4 separate regions of the Homo sapiens genome follow, and all the other regions are linked to region 1. The links are contacts of gene promoters, found by promoter capture Hi-C in blood cells and fetal thymus (Javierre and others, 2016). All regions are on one chromosome and are shown on one strand. The core of a region is centred on a gene start or on the middle of the fragment in contact, and the rest is flanking DNA. Distances in the headings are between cores, read along the strand shown. Region 1 holds the start of USP6 (ubiquitin specific peptidase 6). Region 2 overlaps RABEP1 (rabaptin, RAB GTPase binding effector protein 1). Region 3 overlaps RABEP1 (rabaptin, RAB GTPase binding effector protein 1). Region 4 overlaps RABEP1 (rabaptin, RAB GTPase binding effector protein 1).

Evidence for each region. Contacts are between HindIII fragments. The CHiCAGO score rates a contact against its expected background, and 5 or more counts as called.
Region 2: a contact is called between a fragment that was not itself captured here and the fragment with the promoter of USP6 in region 1, in 2 of 17 cell types (naive B cells and total B cells). The highest score is 6.8, in naive B cells.
Region 3: a fragment that was not itself captured here is called in contact with the fragment with the promoter of USP6 in region 1 in 2 of 17 cell types (total B cells and naive B cells); the score reaches 7.7 in total B cells.
Region 4: a fragment that was not itself captured here is called in contact with the fragment with the promoter of USP6 in region 1 in 2 of 17 cell types (naive B cells and total B cells); the score reaches 5.4 in naive B cells.

What each region holds. Positions count from the first base shown.
Region 1 is chr17:5,114,390-5,117,288 of GRCh38, reverse strand. It overlaps USP6 (ubiquitin specific peptidase 6), which reads right to left and starts at 1,257. Exons shown (of 38, transcript NM_001304284.2): 1 at 549-1,257. It also overlaps a transcript of ZNF232 not described here. The HindIII fragment of the contact is 5,308 bases long and covers 1-2,899 here.
Region 2 is chr17:5,329,380-5,332,447 of GRCh38, reverse strand. RABEP1 (rabaptin, RAB GTPase binding effector protein 1) reads right to left here. Exons shown (of 18, transcript NM_004703.6): 3 at 296-499. Among named protein-coding and RNA genes, the nearest start is that of RABEP1, 49 kb to the right of the region's middle. The HindIII fragment of the contact is 8,927 bases long and covers 1-3,068 here.
Region 3 is chr17:5,307,878-5,310,950 of GRCh38, reverse strand. RABEP1 (rabaptin, RAB GTPase binding effector protein 1) reads right to left here. Exons shown (of 18, transcript NM_004703.6): 2 at 2,129-2,257. Among named protein-coding and RNA genes, the nearest start is that of RABEP1, 27 kb to the right of the region's middle. The HindIII fragment of the contact is 1,710 bases long and covers 660-2,369 here.
Region 4 is chr17:5,353,874-5,356,693 of GRCh38, reverse strand. RABEP1 (rabaptin, RAB GTPase binding effector protein 1) reads right to left here. Exons shown (of 18, transcript NM_004703.6): 8 at 2,204-2,335. Among named protein-coding and RNA genes, the nearest start is that of NUP88, 64 kb to the left of the region's middle. The HindIII fragment of the contact is 8,608 bases long and covers 1-2,820 here.

The DNA of each region.
Region 1 (2,899 bases), core at 8-2,507:
GCCTCGGCCTCCCAAAGTGCTGGGATTAGAGGCTTGAGCCCCCTCGCCCAGGCTTATCGAGCTTTTAATATGTGTTAAGCAGCGGGTGCTACAAAGCAGGGTGAGCATAAATGGACAAGTCTCTGGCCTGATGGAACTTATAATTGTAGAAGAGAAACTAATTAGAATCATTAATAAAGTTGCAACCATAAGTGCCAAAAAGGAGAGGCATATGATACTACAGTGGGGAGTCTCACCTAGCTGGGGAAGGCTTTCTGCAAAGTACTTACCTTTCCTTCCTATTATTTACCCATGAACTCTCTGCAGTTCCCCAAGAATGTAGGCACCGCCCTCTTGCCCTGTGGCCTTTCCACGAGCTGTTCCCTCTGTGAAGATTGCTCCCTCCGTACCTAGCTCCATCACTTTTCAGTACTTGCTATGTGTTGGGTACCGTGATAAGCACTTACCATCAATTTTCTCTTGTATTTACCTCAGTGAGTGCAACTGTTAACCCTGTTTTATACATAAGAAACTACGCTCTAGAAAGGCAAATTTGCCCAAAGACTCACAACTAGTAAGTGAAGAAACGAATTCAAATTCCGGTCGGCCCGACTCGAAAGCGGTCTTGGCGGTACAGTCTTGGGTCTCCCAGTTCCTTCCTGTTCAGGCCTCACGTATCTGCCCGCCTTTCCTGACAGACCCCTGGTGAGGGTCTAGTGCCTCCACGGGCCACGGCCATCGTAAGGCAGCAACTGTAACTTGTCGCCCGCCCCACTAGGCTGAGCTCTTCCCGGACAGGCACTGGCCTTTTCCCTTTCGTCGGCTCAGTGACTCCAGGTAGACGCCCCTCAGACACCACACGAGACGGCGGCTCACATGGGCCAGAAGTGTTTCCCCTCTCCCCCAGCGGCTTGTCTAGGAAAACATGAGGACTCGGTTCGACTCGATGGTGCGGGCCTAAGCCCCGGGAAGCCGGGAGTGGTGAGGCGGGCCGCCGGGAGCGGGGCCGGGAGTGGTGAGGGGGGCCGCCCGGAGCGGGGCCGGGAGTGGCGTCGAGCAGAGAGCCCGCAGGCGGGAAGTCCTCTCAATGAGCGTCTCGAGCGCTGCCCGCGGCCCCTCCTGACTGCTAGTTGGAGCGGGGACAGCATGGGCGCGGCCGCCAAGGTAGCGTCGAGTGAGGGGAAGACTGATGGGCGCCTGGAGACGAGCTCCCACAGCGGCCACGCATTTGGAGCTGGGCGTCGGGGCCCGCCCGTCCCGCCGCGCCGCTAGCTGTCCCCTCTGCCTGGCCTCCGTGCCTTGCGCCCCTTTGTGCCGTCCAGCCCTACAGCTTTGAGGCCCTTTCGGCGCACGCACCCCGCCCCGATCCCCCGGCGCTATCCCAGCCTTGACGGCCGGGGAGGCTTTCCCTAGCCCGGCGCCTCGAGGACCGCCTCAGTGGCCAAAGGCGGCGCGGGGTGCGCCCGGGCTGTGTCCCCGGGAGGCTGGACCGCCAGTCCGCGCATGAGGCCATCTGTGAGGCACGAGTGCAGGAGAGTGAAGGAGACCGGGGCGTGCTGAGTAGGGACCTCCCTCAGTGACTGGAAGGTTATTCATGGGGCCTTCTGACACTCTAAAAACGAAATTTCTCCGGGGTTTGATGAGTATCAGGGTGGTGGCTTCTTGAGTTTTGAGCAGGCATCACAAATCAATCCCTCTGGAATACAGAACTGCCTCTGTTCCGTTTTGGGTTTTGTGTGTGTGTGTGTGTGTGTTTTTGGAGACGGAGTCTTGCTCTGTTGCCCAAGCCGGAGTGCAGTGGCGCCATCTCGGCTCACTGTAACCTCCGCCTCCCGGGTTAAAGCTGTTGTCCCGCCTCAGCCTCCCGAGTAGCTGGGATTACAGGCGCCCCCCACCACGCCAGGCTAATTTTGTATTTTTAGTAGAGAGAGGGTTTCACCATGTTGGCCAGGCTGGTCTTGAACTCCTGACCTCAGGTGATCCACTGGCCTCGGCCTCGCAAAGTGCTGGAATTACAGGCACGACCCACCACATCCGGCCCTCTGTTCCTTGTTTCGAAATAACTCAATTAAAAGTCAGAGGCTCACTGGCCACATCTCCTTCCACCCACCCACCGCCCCACCCCCCAAAAGATGCCTCTAGCAAATAAAATGAGACGTCCTGATGCCTTCCTGGCTCGTTCCAGAATTTTTAGCTTTGACTTTTGACGTGGGGTCCTTCTACCTAAAGTCCCCGCCGTCACATCAGCCCCCAGTTTTCCTCTGTCTTAGCTCGGGCTGCCGTAACAAAATACCATAGACTGGATGCCAGACAACAGAAATTTATTTTCTCAGTTTTGGAGGCTGCAAGGCTGTGACCAGGGCCCAACATGGTCAGGTTCTGGTGAGAGCTCCCTGGCTGCCTTCTCACAGGGTCCTCACATGGCAGAGAGAGAGGGACCCAAAGCCCTCTGGTGTCTTTTTTGTTTGTTTGTTATTTTTTGGGACGGAGTCTCACACTGCTGCCAGGCTGGAGTGCAGTGGCCCGATCTCGGCTCACTGCAACCTCCACCTCCCAGGTTCAAGTAATTCTCCAGCCCCAGCCTCCCAATTAGCTGGGATTACAGGCACCCACCACCACACCCGGCTAATTTTTGTATTTTTAGTAGAGAGGGGCTTTCACCATGCTGGCCAGGCTGGTCTCGAACTCCTGAGCCCAGCTGATCCACCCGCCTCGGTTTCCCAAAGTGCTGGGATTACAGGCGTGAGCCACTGCGCCTGGCCAGAACTCAGTCCTTACAGAACATCAGAGAATCCATACAAGGTGAGAGAGAGGCCTTATAAATGCATTGGGTGTGGGAAAGATTTGAAGGGGAGCTCACAACTTATTCAGCATCAAAGAATTCACAGTGGAAAGAAACTTTGTGAATGCAATGAATGTT
Region 2 (3,068 bases), core at 569-3,068, 210 kb before region 1:
CCTGCCTCCTAGAAGAAATCGACTTTTAAGCCTTACAATGAACTATAGTCCTCATTTAATGCATTATCTCTATAACATCCCTATTATAACTCTCCATTATTAAGTTAGATACGATTGATATATCCATTTATGTTATTAGTGACTTCTCTTTTATCTGAAAGTATATCTTGATGATGACAGTACATAAAACCACAAATGAAACTCTGTATATATTTTAAGATTCTCTGAAAATATTCTCAATCATCAGAATCGGATATCTTAGAAAATCACAAAATTGATCTTTCTCTGTCTTTACCTTTCATAACAGCCTGAAGTGAAGCAACTTCTTCTCTCCACTGTCTTTTCACTTCATCTATAGCTTCTTGCTTGGTGTTCTCAGAGACTGTGGCAATCGCCTTAATATTCTCCATCTCTGCTTGAGCTTCCCACAGCTGGGTTCGAAGGTGTCCCAAATCATCTTGTGCAGCTTGTAATACTGCATTTTGCCTCTTCAGATCCTCTGGAGAGAAAAGTAAAAGATAGTCCATTAATGTTCACTTTGATCAGACTGGCATTCCAATAAAGAAATAAGGTATTAAATTTTAAAATATAAACATACAAAATGACACCCTTTTAATAGAGGTGAGATTTAAGGTAAGCTGGGTATCACAAATCAATTGTTACTATCTATCTAATGATCCAGTAGTTACAGTCATGGTTTTAGAGCTCAATTTACGCATTCCCGTCTGCTGACTAAATGAACTTGGTCATGTTATTTAATCTCTCTGGCCTAAGTTTCCACATCTGCAAAATGGAAGTTAAAAACAGCCACCTCACAAGGTTGTTGTAATGATAATTTATTGGAAACGCTAATTAGTACATTACCTTCCACAAACATTCAAAAAATGTTTAATAAAAGAGAAAAGAAAGCCAGAGCACATGGCAGTGACTAGACGTATGTTCTTTAAAGTTAGCATTAATTTCTCGGCTCCCTCTTACCATCTTTTAAATACTAAGTTGATGTAATGTGCCTACTACATGGTTTAAGCCCAGGCAGAACATATGTTTGGCCAAACTAACTTCAAAAAAAAGATGAACTTATCAACAGTATACAGGGATGTGTGATTGTTTTCCCATACCCTTAACAACAGTCACTATTTTCCATCTTTTAAAAATTCTTGTAAATATCATGGGTAGCAAATGGTCACTTTAATCTACATTTTCCCTGTTAATAAGGAGTTTGAGCATCTTCTCATATATGTACTAGTGACTCATTTCCTCTTTGGTGACATTCTTTACATTTGCTTCTAATGAATGATTTTCCTTCTGATCTGTAAGAGCATTTTATATATTCTGGATATTAAGTCTGTCTTCTCTTACAAAACTTTTCCCAGTCAGCCGCTGTGTTTCTTTAAAAAAAAAAAAAAAAAAAAAAAAAAAAGTTAAGAGATAGGGTCTCAATTGTCGCACAGGCTGGAGTGCAGTGACGCAAACATAGACCACTATAACCTCAAATTCCTGGGCTCAAGCGATCCCCCCACCTCAGCCTCCTGAGTAGCTAGGACTGCAGGCATGCACCATCACGCCCGGCTAATTTTTGAAATTTCTTGTAGAGACAAAGTTTCACTACGCTGCCCAGGCTGGTCTTGGCCTCCTGGGCTGAAATGATCCTCCCGCCTCAGCCTCCCAAAGCGTTGGGATTACAGGTGTGAGCCACCGCGCCCGGCCTTAACTTACGCCTTTTAGCATCTAAAGTTGTAAGGTATTTATGAAAAAAAAAATTCTTCATCTTTGTAAAAGTATCAATTTCCTCTCCAAAGCACAATAACTGAGCCAAACTGACCATGAAAATAAACTGATTTAAGGTCTAATTCTACCGCTAACCAGCTGTATGACTTTAAGGAAATCACAAGATTCTCAAGCCTCAGTTTCCTCATGAAGACAGTGGCAATACTTTCTTGCATAAATTTCTAACTACTTATAAAAATCCAATAGTAAAATAAGAGAACTTTTAAACGTTGTGAAATGTTCATTGTTATCACAGGAGTTAATGATTTGGTAGTCAAAGTCACAGAGGGAAACACCTAGTCATGCTAAGTTGTTTTGAAATCTTTACTCTCTCAACATCAGTTTCCATCACTCTTAAAATATTTTGAATCTCTAGCCAAAGACAGTTTTAAGAACATTAATTAAAAAAGTAATTGTGTGAAGTCCCTTAAAGACAGACACCTGGGAAGTTGTGGTAGGCATGCAAATAGACAGACCCAGAAAGATGTAAACACGTGAAACCACAAAGGAAAAGTTTATGTGTGTCAACTCTGTATTCTGAGTGTTAAACTGTTTCATAAAATGTGAAAAAAGAAAAAGCATTATTTCTGGGATACTTTATTCATTTTTGGGTACTACAATTTTATCAAGGCTCAAGTTTATACACTTAACAGGTCCTCATGCTAATTACCTCTGGTACTTTTGATTTGCTGGAGATTACCCAGAGCTATTCACTACCATGTTGTCATTATGAACAGAAAAACTGTAAACAAATACCAAGCCTAAATATCCATTTTTGGCACTTAAAAGTGAAATAGAGAGCCTGGAGGAAGACTTGGTCAACAGTAACTTTAGTTATATATATATATATATATATATATATGAACATATATATGAATGTTATATTTATATATATAAATACAAAAAAACAGGAGACAGAAATTTAAAATAAAGTTAGAAAATCTTAATTTTTTGTAGTAAAGCATTTCAAACATTATGTTTGCCAACAGTAGGAGTTCTAACATTCGTTTATTGCTTTTACTGCTGTATATGTAATTATTAAGATTTTCAAACATATTCAAAAGTTGAGGGTATACTACAACAATCCTTCATATAGCTTTCACCAAGACTCAAAAGGTATTAAGATTTGCCATGCTTATTTATTTTTTTGAGACGGAGTCTCGCTCTTGTTGCCCAGGCTAGAGTGCAGTGGCACGATCTTGGCTCACTGCAACCTCTGCCTCCCGGGTTCAACAGATTGTCCTGCTTCAGCCTCCCAAGTAGCTGGGATTACAGGCGCGTGCCACCACGCCCAGCTAATT
Region 3 (3,073 bases), core at 265-2,764, 190 kb before region 1:
GTAGCCCCAGCTACTAGGGAGGCTAAGGCACAAGAGTCGCTTGAACCCAGGAGGCGGAGGTTGCAGTGAGCCAAGATCACACCACTGCACTTCAGCCTGGACAACACAGCGAGACTCGGTCTCAAAAAAAAAAAAAAATGAATGAAACAAATGCACACTCAAGTTTCAAAACCATTTTTAAGAAAAAAATTCTAAAGGAGATGTAAAGAAGAAAACCCAACGCAAGGAGGAAAACCACTGTAAAATTTCGGCTATAAAGCTATTCATGTGTTTGTTAAACAGATAACAATGGATAAATCACTGATATTTTCATTCCACTGGATATGTTTAAAAGCAGGAAGTTGGCCAGGCGTGGTGGCTCACCCAGCACTTTGGGAGGCCGAAGCGGGCGGATCACAAGGTCAGGAGTTTGAGACCAGCCTGACCAACATGGTGAAACCCCGTCTCTACTAAAAATACAAAAATTAGCCGGGCATGGTGGCACACACCTGTAATCCCAGCTACTCGGGAGGCTGGGGCAGGGCAGGAGAATCACTTGAATATGGGAGGCGGAGGTTGTAGTGAGCTGAGATAGTGCCACTGAACTCCAGCCTGCGTGACAGGGGAAGATGTCGGGGGAGACTCCCATCTCAAAAAAAAAAAAAAAAAAGGACGAAGCTTTCATTTAAATTGTAAATATCAACAATATAAAATTTTATCCTTCACATCTTTTCAAGCAAAAAATTTTAAACATCAACTTTAACATGTATGAAGGTTGTATGTAAGTATATATTTTACAGAGTTCATAAGTTAAAAAAGGTGCATGATCACTAGTCCAGAACAGGATTTTTCAAACTGTAGTACTTGAACTAGCAGTAACTGGAATCATCTATGAGCTTATTAGAAATGCAAATTTCTGGGCTCCACCCAAACATACTGTGGTTTAACAAGCTCTCCAGGTGATTTTTATCCACATTTGAATTTGAGAGCCACTATTCTATTATAGACTAGAGCAGTTTTCAAAATTTAGTGTGCAGCTGGACCCAAATCCCACAGTTTCTAACTCAGTAAATCTGGGTGGGACCCAAACATTTGCATTTCTAACAACTTTCCCAGGTGATGATGACGATAATGATGCTGTTCCACAATCACACTTTGAGAATCACTGGTCTAGAGAGCTGTGGAAACTACATTCACATTATTCTAGGTCGATACTCAGAAGGTAAGCCCCTTCCCTGATCCTTCAAATCAGGTCCCCCAACATGTTCTCTCATGTATTTTCCTTATACAGTTTCTTTTTCTTTTTTTTTTTTTTTTGAGATGGGAGTTTCACTCTTGTCGCCCACGCTGGAGTGCAATGGCGCAATCTCAGCTCACCTCAACGTCTGCCTCCTGGGTTCAAGCAATTCTTCTGCCTCAGCCTCCCGAGCAGCTGGGATTACAGGCATGCGCCACCATGCCCAGCTAATTTTGTATTTTTAGTACAGACAGGGTTTCTCCATGTTGGCCAGGCTGGACTTGAACTCCCGACCTCAGGTGATCCGCCCCCGCCCGTTGGCCTCCCAAAGTGCTGGGATTACAGGTGTGAGCCACCGCGCCCAGCCTGCAATTTCCTGTTTTAACGACTCATCACACAATTACTTAACATCTGTTTTGCTCATTGAGTTCAACCAAGTTAAAGAACCACATGAATTTTCCTCTTTCTGTATACCCAACACAAGTATAATGTCTGCCTCATAGTAGATATTAAATAAATATTTATTGATAAATAACTGAATATTTGTTGGGTAAAACTGATGTTTCATGGAATTAAAGATAACATAGCTAAAGCTGTTATTAGAATGCCAACAATCCTAGTTTGCCCACAACTGTATCCCAAATGTTAAGAGCAATAACATTCTCTTATCTCAAGGCTATGCAACCTAAATATGAACAGTAAGATCAAAAAACAAGGCAAAATCTGAAGAAGGCATTTTTCAACTTGTTTTTCAATCCCATTCTTAACCTAGCCTTTAAACAGTATTCTTTTATTATGCAAGTACAAATAAAATCAAGGTTTATTCAATGATAAAATTAACACTACTACCAAGAAACTCAACACTTTAAGGCAGTTTTCGCATTGAAGTTGGTGCGAGACTTATGAACTTACCCTCTTTAGCCAAATATAACTCCTTAAATTTTGCTCTCTTTTGATTAAATTCTTGTTCAAGCTGCTGTTGTGCACGTAAAAATTCTGCATTAATTTTTTCCAATTCTGCTACCCGTTGCTGAAGAGAAACTGGGGGAAAAAAACACTAGTTAACAAGTAATAACTTTTATTCATAAATTTATAAAACAGTAAATTAGTATTCTAGCTGTACATTGCTATACGTGAAACAAGTAGTCAAGCTTCTTCCAAAAATCCACCATATGCTAGGATATTCTAATGTTTAAAAAAAGTAAGACAGACCAGGCATGGTGGCTCACGCCTGTAATCCCAGCACTTTGGGAGGCCGAGGCGGGCGGATCACCCGAGGTCAGGAGTTCGAGACCAGCCTGGCCGACATGGAGAAATCCCATCTCTATTAAAAATACAAAAATTAGCCAGGTGTAGTGGCAGGTGCCTGTAATCCCAGCTACTCAGGAGGCTGAGGCAGGAGAATCGCTTGAACCCGGGAGGCGGAGGTTGCAGTGGGCCGAGATCGCACCACTGCACTCTAGCCTGGGTGACAGAGTGAGACTCTGTCTCAAAAAAAAAAAAAAAGATCCTTGTATTAGACTTAATACACAACTGTAAATGAGTCATGTAAAGTGAAACCACAAATATACAGAGAATCACATAAGGCCAACTTCCCCACAAAAAAAAGAGCTTCTAAAGTGCCTTTGTGCAACTGAATAGCAATTTAATTTTAGAACTGTTAAATATTGGATTATTTGAACTACTTATCCCACAAATGAACCTACTGCCAATCTTGCTATTTCCCATTTCTCTCAAGTGTCACAAGCAAAATCTAATAGGTTCCCTAACTAGTGTAGCCATACCAGACTGAACTATTCTTCCAACTTCAAAATGATCCATTACCATTATACTGAGATCATAATCAAAAACCCATTC
Region 4 (2,820 bases), core at 197-2,696, 240 kb before region 1:
GGGTGAGAGTGAGACCCTGTCTCAAATTAAAAAAAAAAAAAAAAGAAATATGTTAACATATGTTAACATATATATTATCTCTGGAAAAGAAAATAAGGAAAGGAAGAAAGAGATACATACCAAAATATTAGTTGTTACCTCTGGGTAGGATGATCTATCAGTTATTTTTATTTTGAATGGTGTTTTCTATACTTCCCAAATTTTCCATAATGAACATTTTGTAGAGAGAAAAGCATATTATAAGCATCAGGTTAAAGAAAATGTGAGGTCTACAAATTTCAAATATCTTTAGCCATAAATCCAACTCTCCAAAGCATCTCAGATTAACTTTTGTGTGTGTGAGACAGGATCTCACTGTCATCCAGGCTGGAGTGCAGTAGCAAAATCTCAGCTCATTGCAACCTCCACCTCCCGGGTTCAAACAATTCTCATGCCTCAGTCACCTGAGTAGCTGGGATTACAGGGATCCACCACCTCGCCCAGCTAATTTGTGTATTTTTAGTAGAGATAGGGTTTCACACCATGTTAGCTAGGCTTCAGATTAACTCTAAACCAAGAGTTGTGTCATTATTCTCAATACAAAACAATTATATTCAACATTCAAACTGCAAAACACCAGCTCTGAAAGTCTACGGATCTGTTAAGAGAGAATCAAAAATAAAAATACTTCTCTGTAAATCACAACAAATGTCCCTTTCCTGTTTTCCCACTTTTCAAACATTCCTGGATAGATTACTGCATGATGAAAACACTATGTAATCATTGGCTGTACCCAAAACTTGAGACATTCTCTTGGGAGTCTAAATATTTTTAAAATGCACAGCAGAATTAGACCAAGTGGTTCCCAGTCTATGTCCCAGAACAAAGAATGAACAAAACAACTTCAATATACAGCACTTTTTAGTGTCTACTAAAATTTTTTTTAAGTTTTTCTTAAACATCAAACAATCTGTAAGCATGGGCATATATATAACCACCAGGATGTAGATTATGTATGGCTCAAAGTAAATCTGCAAAGTAAATAGAAACATGATACCCCTGAAAGTAAAGACAAGACCTGTATCCAATTTAAGTGCAATTCATTCACCAGGCCAGGAAAGGAGGTGCCGCAGGGAAGTGAGTGTGATTCTAAGCCGCAGGGACAGGCCACATGAGCATGAACAGTAAGTGCACAGGTCTGGCTACAGAGAGGTGGAGAGCAGTAAGTGAGGCTGGAAGGGCCATTCAACTGTGAATGCCCTTGTATGCCATGCTAGGGATCTTGGGGGATCTTAGTTTTTATTCTAAAGGCAATAAGAGAAGCAGTTCCTTCACTGATAACAAGATGAGCTTTGAAAGATGAGTAGAAGGATTTCAATACTCAGAAAGGCAATGGGAGGAAAGTACTCCAAATGAAGGAACCAACAGACCAAGTGGGAATACAGCCCAAGATGATGACCAACATGGCTAAAATGTAATCCAGATGATGAAGGGCCTTAATTGTCAGAGTGAGGAATGTGTGCTTAATTATATAGGTAATGGGAGTCAATGGTAGTTTTTGAGTAGGGGAGTGGCCTGACTGCAGCTGCACTTAAGAAAATGAATTTGACAGTAATGCTGAGGACGCAGTGGAATGGGACAGGTTGAGGCAGGAAACCCAATGAGGAGGCCCTTGCCACACTGTAGGTGAGAGGTGACAAGGCCACAGAACACCTAACACTTCCAGGTCTCTCTACTCTACCCATTCCTAGTACCTGAAACATTTTACCCTGTGGTGTTATCTGCCAAACCTCACCCATGGCCGTCAGGGATGAAAACCTAATACTGGTTAATACTCTCATATATGCTACAGGGAGTTAAGCATTTCAGCGCTTTAGATAATCTCTTTTTAAACAAAAAAGACAAGTATTAGCAACATGTACTATTCACATCAAAAAAGATTTTGCAGACATTATTTAAAGGTTTATTCTAATGTATTAAATTTTGGAAATACTGGAAAAAAGAACATCTATTTCAGACAGCGAATGAAGCTGCAACATGTTTCAAATAGTGCTACCTATAATGCCATAAAAACAACTGAAAATACTGTCATTTTTATCTAACTTTCACCTCGTAGCTATGCACTTCTCACTTCTCATATGAACAATGTAATTAACTGATGTATGAGTAAGCTAAAATTGTTGACATTGTGTATTTAATGACTTTAATTATAGACTCACTATACCTCTTCATTTGATAACTGGGCTGAAGATTCTTCTTGAGTTAAAGCACACACTACTGGTATTTTTATTTCTTCCTCAACATCTGCTTTTTTGTGATCCTTTCTCTTATTGAGTCTTTGTTGTTCATCATCCTCCTAAAAGGAAGAAAAAAACATATATATGACCCAAGTAACCTACTTAATAAGTGACACAGTTCTTTAACCATTCAAAACAAATAAAGAACAGAGCGTTATGATAAGAGAAAACTGGATACTTACGCTTCTTTGTTTTGTAATCCCATCTAAGGGCCTCTGGCCATTACAAAATATTTTAATATTATAAGCACAAACTAAGAACACTGGTATAAAGAAGAAATCAGGAAGCAGCTTCCAAGAAAAGTATACTGTATAAAGTAAGGCAAAATAAAAGAAAGCAAAACCGCCTCTTCAAATGATCCTTGAAAAAAAAAATTTACACAGAACATTCCTTGTGATTACTGTAGAAAATAAATATGAAAAAGTTTGTTTTTGAGACAAGGTCTTGCTCTGACACTCAGGCTGGAATGCAGTGGTGCAAATATGGTTCACTGCAGCCTCAACCTCCTGGGTTCAAGCAATTCTCCCACCTCATCCTCTCCACA